Linked DNA regions of Homo sapiens: all the other regions are linked to region 3. The links are contacts of gene promoters, found by promoter capture Hi-C in human tissues and cell types (Jung and others, 2019). All regions are on one chromosome and are shown on one strand. Each heading gives the region's core, a stretch centred on a gene start or on the middle of the fragment in contact. The rest is flanking DNA. Distances are from core to core; before and after follow the strand shown. Region 1 overlaps CLUAP1 (clusterin associated protein 1). Region 2 holds the start of TRR-CCT3-1 (tRNA-Arg (anticodon CCT) 3-1). Region 3 holds the start of TIGD7 (tigger transposable element derived 7).

Region 1 (3,310 bases), core at 619-3,118, 220 kb before region 3:
TGGCCAGGCTGGTCTCAAACTCCTGACCTCAAGTGATCCGCTCGTCTTGGCCTCCCAAAGCCAAGCAAGCTTTTAAATCTGCACTCGAGACCAGCTACATAATTTTTGGGATCAGTGGAAAATAAAATGCACTTAAAAATTATTATGAATTTCAAGACAGTGACAACAGGGCCTGAAAGCAAGCACAGGCCCCATGTCGGCACAGGGTCTTACGCAGCCACACAGGCCTCATGTCGGCCCTGTCTGTTCTCTTAACTGACCAAACCTGATGAAATATGACATCAAAGATTTGACAACCCTGGAGTCCAGTGTACACTGCCAGCAAAACAAACACATTACATGAGCAATCCTCAGACTGACCAGGGAGAAAAAACATGTACTGATATTTTTTTCACAATGATATTAACAAAATGACCTGTCACCCAGTACAAAATAACACACCAGAAGGAATGGCTGAACAGAGGACAGGCTCAGCTCACCTCAAACCTTTCTTGCTCCATCCTATGATGGTCTTCAAGCTGTTGTTCCAGATAAGTCAGATTTTGAAATTTCTCCAGATAAGTGTCATACTGCTTTTGTAATTCTTCCTCAGTCTTCTCATACTCATCCATAAAACATGGCCTAAAAGAAGCAAATGAAATAAAAAGGAAAGGTGAATTATATGCAGTAGTTTGAAATGGGTATTCACAGTTTCAGATTCCATGGTGGCTTTCTCTGGAAACCCTTAATTAGAGAAGGTCCTTCATTCTTGTAATGCTTAAAAATATTTTCCCTTTTCTGCTTTCTCCCCCCAAAATGAACATACTTCTTTTTCATCATAAATAAGATGTGCTCTTTGTAAAAACTTGAAATAATCCTGAAAGTATGAAGAATGACGTAAAAATTACTGATAATCCCATCACCAGGTATAAGCGCTTGATAGTTGACATACATCCTTCCAGACTTTTCTATGCATAAATATAGATAGGAATGCATTTAAAAAAAAAATTAAATATACCAAGAAATTTTATAATCTTTATTTCATTTCAATATACCGTAATCTCAATAGAGTTAAAAATGATCAGGCTGGGTGCATCGGCTCACACCTGTAACCCTAGCACTTTGGGAGGCTGAAGTAGGAGGAGGATTGAGCCCTGGAGTTCAAGGCTGCAGTGAGTGAGGATCCTCTGACCTTGCCGTGGCACTCCAGCCCTCCAGCCTGGGTGACACATTGAGACCCCATCTCTAAAGGCAAAAAAATCACATACCAGACACATCTCTCCAAATCAATAAATATATATATTATTATCTTATTTGGGTATAATGTTCTACTGTTGGCCGGGTGCGGTGGCGCACGCCTGTAATCCCAGCACTTTGGGAGACTGAGGCGGGTGGATCAACTGAGGTCAGGAGTTTCAGACCAGCCTGGCCAACATGGTGAAACCTCGTCTCTACTAAAAATACAAACATTAGCCAGGCGTGGTGGCACATGCCTGTAATCCCAGCTACTCGGGTGGCTGAGGCAGGAGAACTGCTTGAACCTGGGAGGTGGAGGTTGCAGTGAGCCGAGATTGCGCCACTGCACTCCAGCCTAGGCAACACAGAGAGACTCCATCTCAAAAGAAATAATAATAATAATAATAATGTTCTACTGTCAGGATATTATAAATTTAAAGCAATCCTCTAAAAAGGGGACCACAGGTTGTTACGAATTAAGGCTGGTGGTTTTTTTTTGTTTGTTGAGACAGGGTCTCACTTTGTCACCCAGGCTACAGTGCAGTGGTGTGATCATGGCTTACTGCAGCATCGAACGCCTGGGCTCAGGTGATCCTCCTGTCTCAGGCCCCCAAGTAGCTGGGACTACAGACATGTGCCACTATGCCCAGCTATTTTTTATATTTTTTTTTTGTAGAGATGGGGTTTCGCCATATTGCCCAGGCTGGTCTTGAACCCCTGAGTTCAAGCGATCTGCCCGCCTTGGCCTCTCAAAGTGCTGGGATTATAGACGTGAATCACTGTGCCCAGTCTAAAGAGGTTTTTAAACGATAAAAAATTTTTTAAAAAGGCCAGGCGTGATGATGACTCATGCCTGTAATCCCAGCACTTTGGGAGGCCAAGGCAGGTGGATCACAAGGTCAGGAGTTCAAGACCAGCCTGGCCAACATGGTGAAACTCCGTCTCTACTAAAAATACAAAAATTAGCTGGGCGTGGTGGCGGCCGCCTGTAATCCCAGCTACTTGAGAGGCTGAGGCAGGAGAATCGCTTGAATCCGGGAGGCAGAGTTTGCAGTGAGCCGGGATCGCGCCATTGCACTCCAGCCTCGGCAACAAGAGCGAAACTCCAACTCAAAAAAAAAAAACAAAAACAAAAAAAACCATAAAAATCTATACTGGTTTGCTGAACTTTTTCTTTTTTCTTATTATTGACCTTAAAGGGAAAATTCTACTCTTTTAAAAATATAAGCAGATAAACTCAGAAATAATTATAATCTTTTGAACTAGAGCAAAACAAAGAGACTTTTCTGTTAAAATGATTTGGAGCTTAACAAAAATGAATTGATGCTTTAAAAGTGGAATGTGTCAAGGAGATCAATCTATATGGCGGCAATGACTTCTGTTTTTTTTTTTTTCCCTCTCTGAGGCTCCAGAGGTAAAGAGCCAGTTTCAGGAGGGGAAGGGCCTTGGCCTTGCGCTGGGCAGGGAGGAGCCAGGGCGCTCCCTGTGGTTGCTGTCGCTGCCTCCAGGTGCTGCCTCCCCACAGACCTCGGGACAGTGGGCAGGGTGTAGCCAGCCACCAACATCCAAAAAGGCAAAACATCCGAGCAGAGTAGGCAGCTGGGAAGAGGAGGGAGCCAAGAAGAAAGAAAAATAAAGGGTGAATGAAAAGGGAGAAAGAGCAGAAGCATGGGGGAGGGAAAGAGGCACAGAACGAGGAAGAGAAGAGAGAGAGAGCCGGCACCACTATTCTCCATCGGTATTCCTGGGAAATATATTTCCAATGAGGTAACGTAGGAAGAAAGATGAATTACTGACTGGTGAGGAATGATCAAGGTTTAAATAAAGTCTAAAATCTATGCCAACAAACAGGCAGGAGTATGTTTCTGTTTCTACCTAATTTATGGCAAGATCTTAGGAGACCACGTCTGGATTTCCCCGTCTGGATTCACTTACTCTGCCTTGAGTTCCAAGAAGCTATAAAAGCTTAAAGGGCAGTTCAAGCTTTAAGCAGTTTTCCAGACATACCGCAAGCAGTAAAGAGAATGAGTTTAGCCATCTGCTTGTTATGACAGGCAACACATGTACATTTGAGGTGAAGATACCCTTATGTAAG
Region 2 (3,355 bases), core at 443-2,942, 150 kb after region 3:
TTATGAGGAGTTGCAGGCTGAAGCAAGTGCCCTGGGTGACCAGTGGCTGCTGTGCCTGATTGTTGCAGCACAGGTGACCACACAGACTTTCGTTAGTTCATGGCGTGGAAAGAAGTCTTCTGAAGGCCCTGGTTTGCTTACAGAAAGAAGATGACAAGATCAGGTCTCTAAACTTTTAGACTAAGTCAAGTTCAGAGACGCAGGGACAATTTATGGCAACCATACAATAACCTTAAAGCCACAAGGCTGACATTGCTAAAAATCAAACATGTCATTTAACTAGGCATGTTGCAGAATGGCAACGTAAATTGAATTCACAGCCTTAGGAAATCTTTGGTGTGAAAGATACTGCATTGATTAGGCAGAAGTGGTGACATCAGATTGGACTCAAAATTGAGAATCTTGAACTACAAAGGTTGACCTTGGAGAAAACAGCCTACATGACAAAACAAAACAGAAACAAAACAAGTTTGGCTACTTTAAGCCATCATAAGGAGGATGGGATATGATTTTGTATCTGGTGAATTTATCCATCTGGGTGCATATCCCAAAGAGCCTATAGTTAATATGTTATCTCATGCAGCTGACCATGGCCCTACCAGGTTTCTTGGTTGGTTGGCTGAAAATTGAACTCAGTGGTGGCCTATGTTTAATGAGACCGGGCTGCCAGAACGTCTCAGGCAAACTGTAGAGAAAGAAACCTAAAGACACCAAGCAATGTTGGAGTGCATCTTTCACGCATGATGTGCATACCACTGAGAAGACCAGAGGACACTCCCTTTCTTTCTTTCTTTCTTTTTCTCTTTTCTCTTTTTTTTGAGACGGAGTCTTACTCTGTCGCCCAGGCTGGAGTGCAGTGGCACGACCTCAGCTCACTGCAACCTCTGCCTCCCGGGTTCAAGCGATTCTTCTGCCTCAGCCTCCCAAGTAGCTGGGACTACAGGCGAGCGCCACCACACCCGGCTAATTTTTGTATTTTTAGTAGAGATGGGGTGTCACCATATTGGCCTGGCTGCTCTAGAACTCCTGACCTCGTGATCCGCCTGCCTCGGCCTCCCAAAGTGCTGGGATTACAGGTGTGAGCTACCGCACCAGGCCAGGACACTCCCTTTCACAAGGCCTCCCGAAAAAATCCATCACTGAAGCATCAGCTTCCTTAAGTAGCTCTCTGGTGGCCATTCTCTACAGGTGGCCTATGATGGTGGAAGGTAATGCCATTGAGGTGTGGAAGGTAACGCCACTGAGGTGTGGAAGGTAACCCCATTGAGGTGTGGAAGGTAACCCCATTGAGGTGAGGAAGGTAATGCCATTGAGGTGAGGAAGGTAATGCCATTGAGATGTGGAAGGTAACCCCATTGAGGTGAGGAAGGTAACCCCATTGAGGTGTGGAAGGTAATGCCATTGAGGTGAGGAAGGTAACCCCATTGAGGTGTGGAAGGTAATGCCATTGAGGTGAGGAAGGTAACCCCATTGAGGTGAGGAAGGTAATGCCATTGAGGTGAGGAAGGTAACCCCATTGAGGTGTGGAAGGTAACGCCATTGAGGTGAGGAAGGTAACCCCATTGAGGTGAGGAAGGTAACGCCATTGAGGTGAGGAAGGTAATGCCATTGAGGTGAGGTCCCTGATTTCAGTGGAGATGATGGGGTCCAGGATGTTTGGGGAACTGGGAGAAGCCAGGCCAGAGCTGGAAAAACAGAAGAGTCCCAATTATGAGTTTTATTTATTTATTTATTTATTTTGAGACGGAGTCTCTGTCACCCAGGCTGGAGTGCAGTGGCGCGATCTCCGCTCACTGCAACCTCCACCTCCCGGGTTCAAGTGATTCTCCTGCCTCAGTCTCCTGAGGAGCTGGGATTACAGGCGCGTGCCCCCACGCCCGGCTAATTTTTCTATTTTTAGTAGAGACGGGGTTTCACCGTGTTGGTCAGGCTGGTGCGTGATCGTGATCCGCCCGCCTCGGCCTCCCAAAGTGCTGGGATTACAGGCGGGAGCCACTGCGCCCGGGCCAATTATTGGTTTTAAAGGCAAAAGCCAACCATGTTTTTATACATATTTATGACAAAACTCCAGCAGTGGTCCCCATCAGAGCGGCTTCTGATTTTACTTTACACCATGTCCTGTAGTTCGGGAAATTTTTACCTTGAAGATGGCATCATATATTGCATGGATTTAAAAAAAGAATACTATGGACTATTTCAAATATGTATTAAAAGAGAGAAAATAGTGCAATGTCCCCTCATGTCCCCCATTATCTACTCATGGATAAGTAGTTTCATCTATACCGCCATCCATCTTATGATTTCTTTTTTTTTTTTTTTGAAACGGAGATTACAGGCTGGGATTACAAGTTTAAGCCAGCGCACCTGGCCTCAGTTTTATGATTTTTAAAACAAACCAGTTGTCTTGTAATTTAATCTGTAAATAATTGTGTTTATAAAAAAAAGGATTTAAAAAATATTTGTAACCATAATAGAATTAACAAACCTGGAAAAATAAACAATCATTCCTTTCTATCAAGTTAAATGGATGGTACTTAACATCCTGTAAAAGATTCGGCTCCTTTTTTCTGTAACGTGAAATTGTGCTCGTCTTCCTTGAAAACAGGTAGAGGTTTCTGATTTAGAGCCTTTTTGGTAACCCTTCGGAAACTCCGCACCTCCACTGGAGTATACCGCATTCTAACTCTTCTGCCCGATAAGGAACACTAAAATTCGGCCTTTCTTTACCCCGGGTGGGACTCGAACCCACAATCCCTGGCTTAGGAGGCCAATGCCTTATCCATTAGGCCACCGGGGCGGATAACAAAACGCTGTCGCTTGTCTTAGACCAGTTTCTCCATCACTCCGCGGTGGTTCCTGCACAGCCTGCCCGTCCTACCCTGGCCTTTCTCCCGCCCCTCCACTGCAATCCAAGCTTCGGTTCAGATCTCGTCCGCTCCTGAGCATCCTCGGGACCCCAAAGAGACGGCGCACGTGCAGAGGGACCTGAAAGACACCGAACGTCAGATTTTTGGCTCCGCTCTTTGGTCTAGGGGTATGATCTTCGCTTAGGGTGCGAGAGGTGCCTGGATCAACTCCTTCACAAGCCGTCGTCTCCACTCAGGAGACAACCCAAGTCTAGGGGTAATTAGTAGCGAATGATGCACTTGCGATGGGTAGAGTGTATGGGAAGGGGCACGCGATGCCAGCTCAGCAACTGGCTCCTCATCCCGAGCCCGCCGCTTCTGGAAGTGTCGGTCTTCGTCCTCCTCCCCCGCATTGTCCGTTAGACCAAGGGTGCCGCCCAGTGGTCGGAAGCCTCTTAATAATGACCCTCCAAAATCCGCCCTCTACATCCCCAGCTGGCTAGGTGTTA
Region 3 (3,311 bases), core at 117-2,616:
TAAGCAACAAGATGCTCATCATTCTTTGCAACACACATAAAGGGTGCCATGCAGATGATTTATACGAATTTTGTTTTTTTTTTTGAGATGGAGTCTCGCCCTGTCACCCAGGCTGGAGTGCAGTGGCGTGATCTCAGCTCACTGCAACTTCCACCTCCCCGGTTGAAGCCATTCTCCTGCCTCAGCCTCCCGACTAGCTGGGATTACAGGCGCGTGCCACCATGCCCGGCTAATTTTTGTGTTTTTAGTAGAGACAGGGTTTCACCATCTTGGCCAGGGTGGTCTCGATCTCCTGACCTCGTGATCCACCCATCTTGGCCTCCCAAAGTGCTGGGATTACAGGCGTCAAACACCGCGCCAGGCCTATATGAATTTTTAACTGTGCTTACTTGATCTGGAGAAAATTACAGCTGACCTCTGTTTACAAAATATCAACTTGTAAAAAAGGATATTTTATTTACAAAATATCAAGTCGTATTTTCTTTCTGTCGCTGATGTTTATGAAATATCAACTCCAACAGGAGTTGGTGACGATGAAAGTGAAACTTTCTGCTGACTTTGTATTTCTCCAAAGGTCATTTAGACTTCTAAGGGGGGCTGAGGAGAGCCGTGAGCCTCACTTTTCCTGAAGTGAGCCAGCAGAAACGGCACCGAAATTCTGCCCAGGATGCCACCGGTATTCAAAGAAGTGGCCAGCTCCTTGCTGCCCACCCCGGTTCCAGAAGCAAAGAGACACTTCCTATGTTTTTGCATCAGTAGAAGCTGCTAGCCCTGAGGCTCAACCGACCGCATGACATCGGCCGGACACGGAAATGCCGGCGGAGGCGGGAAAGAGTCTGCGGGCGCAGCTGCAGGCACTGCTGCCCGCCAGCACTCGGATTCGCCACAGCCTGTGTCTGCGACAGGCGTGCCCGTGGGCACTGGGCAAGCGGGCAGTGTCCCAGCGAGCTTCAGCCGCGCCTCTGGGATACAGCTGCGAAAAGCGGGGAGAGAATGGTTTCTCGTGCCCGACGGTGGCCCCGCCTCAGGCTCCAGCCGCGCGGCCCGGAAGCGCCGCGGCCACCGCCTACGGAAAATGGCTGCCTCCCTGCGGCCGCCGCCGCTCCAGCGGCTCCAGGGTCGAAGCCATAGGGGAAGCCGCTTCTCGGTTACCTCGGCCAGCTTGGCTTCCGTGGAGGCCGCTCCTCGCTTTCTGAGGCTCAAACGCAAGCCACCGCCCGAAAGGCCGCCGATCTGAGGAGCGCAACCGCCAGCCCACCGCTGGCCTACCGCAGCCCTGTCCAGGTACAGAGCCAGAGCGCCGGCCGGAAGTGGAAGTGACGCTTTCCGAGGGTGGCGCAGGCCCGCCCTCTGGCTAAGGCGCCTGAGCCCGGCCTACTTCCTCGCCAGAGAAACTGCTGTCTTCCCCGGCGGTAGGGAAGGGTTAATGCCACCGAGTATCCAGACCCGCTGAAGCCTAGAGGGCCTTGTACCGGCTCACCGCGTGGCTGTCGCTGTCTCGTGTCCCCAGTGGGGGAGGCGTCGCACTGCCGCGTCTGTTCTGCGTGGCTGTCGGGCGGCGTTTGGTCCCGGGAGCCTCGCCGGGTAAGGGTCGCCTCCCAGCTGCGCGCGCCGCGTTCTCGGGCTTCCCGCGGCCCGGCCGGCCGTGCTCGAGCTGTTGCTGGGCTCGTCGCCGCCTCCTCGAGGAAGAGGCATTTTGTCCGGGTCGGGCCACTCGCTAGGTCAGAAACAGCGGCCCCCCGAGGGTTTTGTACCGTTTTCTAGGTCTCGTGACGCATTCCCCACAACTATTTTTTCTTGAGGTAGGTTTGAACCTGTGAAATAGGTTCTTTTTCTATCTCTCCTTGACAGAGAAACGGAGACCTAAGAAGTGACTTGCTCAGGGTCACATAGCTCAGCAGTGGCGGCCGCTAATCGGAAATAGCTCTCCTGTTGTGGTATCCTCTGCGTTTTCCACTCCAGTATTCTTCCCTGGAAAATGGGAACCTTGTTTTCATCTTATATCTCATGCAGCGCCTAACATAGTCACCTGGTAAGATAGGCATTCCACACATATTTACTGAATCATAGTTATAAGAATCTGAGTGTTTTGGGTGTTCAGTGATCTCTGAATTAATCCGTTTTTGTAATGTCAGTCTGTACCAGTTGAGGGATTATTTAATAAGTCCAGTATGAGTGGTTTCGGAATTACCAGTTTTTGTAACGTCAGCTTATACCAGTCAAGGGACTATTTATTAAGTCAGCTATGTGTAGCCAATATTGCAGAGTTGAGTAAGAAGTCTTTGTCCTTAAGCAATCTCTTGAAAGGACTGAGCAATTTCGTGAATATCAGTAACACAAGGGTAAGAATAGGACATAAACTGAATGCTGTGAGAACTCCAAGAAAATCCAAGTTGATTTGGGGTTGGGGGAAATTATAAAAGACCTTGAGGGATTTTGTCCACAGCAGGGAATGGAGACACTTTCCAGGCAGAGGGAAGGGTAGGAGTAAAGGCTTTAAAAGCTGGAAACATTAGACTGTGAGATCTTAGGTACGTTTTTACTGAGTTGGGCTGCATTTAGAGGAAGAGTTTTAAAAGTTAGAAAACGAGTTTATGTGGCACTTATACTGGAGTCCTTTGAATGGGAATGAAAAGAGTGCATTTAAGAAAGTAAATCCTGGCCGGGCGCGGTGGCTTACGCCTGTAATCCCAGCACTTTGGGAGGCCGAGGCGGGCGGATCATGAGGTCAGGAGATCGAGACCATCCTGGCTAACATGGTGAAACCCCGTCTCTACTAAAAAATACAAAAAAAAATTAGCCGGGCGTGGTGGTGGGCGCCTGTAGTCCCAGCTACTCGGGAGGCTGAGGCAGGAGAATGGCGTGAACCCGGGAGGCGGAGCTTGCAGTGAGCCGAGTTCACGCCACTGCATTCCAGCCTGGGCGACAGAGCGAGACTCCGTCGCAAAAAACAAAACAAAACAATACAAAAAAGTAAATCCTGGAGCACCATTTGAGCGTTTTGGACTGAGCTGCTTTCTATGGCAGTTCATCTAAGGTAAGTTTAAGGTGAGAATGAAGATGAGAGGCCATTACCAGGCCATTATGCTATTTTTGCTTTTGGATGGGATGGTATGTAACTCCTCTTAGGCATAGATCTTGATCCTTTTTAAGTGAGAGAGAAAGATAAACAGATTTAATAATGAGCATCTGCCTAAGTCACTTGAATTTGTGTCTAAGTAGGTTCATTTCCTTAAAATCTCAGCCAGGTTGGGACTTCATTTCTTCAGCAGTAAATATTCTCAGTCTATCAGAACCAGTGGACAGTAGCG

Evidence for each region. The method cuts DNA at HindIII sites, captures the fragments that hold promoters and counts their contacts. A contact is called where the count stands out against the background at its distance.
Region 1: a fragment that was not itself captured here is called in contact with the fragment with the promoter of TIGD7 in region 3 in 1 of the 25 tissues and cell types used here (bladder).
Region 2: a contact is called between a fragment that was not itself captured here and the fragment with the promoter of TIGD7 in region 3, in 1 of the 25 tissues and cell types used here (spleen).

What each region holds. Positions count from the first base shown.
Region 1 is chr16:3,520,469-3,523,778 of GRCh38, reverse strand. It overlaps CLUAP1 (clusterin associated protein 1), which reads right to left. Exons shown (of 12, transcript NM_015041.3): 8 at 480-621. Among named protein-coding and RNA genes, the nearest start is that of CLUAP1, 21 kb to the right of the region's middle. The HindIII fragment of the contact is 3,871 bases long and covers 1-3,310 here.
Region 2 is chr16:3,152,342-3,155,696 of GRCh38, reverse strand. TRR-CCT3-1 (tRNA-Arg (anticodon CCT) 3-1) reads right to left here and starts at 2,797; the gene lies at 2,725-2,797. It also overlaps the pseudogene TRP-AGG6-1. RefSeq lists a silencer at 2,630-2,769. The HindIII fragment of the contact is 9,846 bases long and covers 1-3,355 here.
Region 3 is chr16:3,303,485-3,306,795 of GRCh38, reverse strand. TIGD7 (tigger transposable element derived 7) reads left to right here and starts at 1,366. Exons shown (of 2, transcript NM_033208.4): 1 at 1,366-1,584. ZNF75A (zinc finger protein 75A) reads right to left here and starts at 1,299. Exons shown (of 7, transcript NM_001302109.2): 1 at 1,153-1,299. RefSeq lists an enhancer at 1,276-1,805. The HindIII fragment of the contact is 22,904 bases long and covers 1-3,311 here.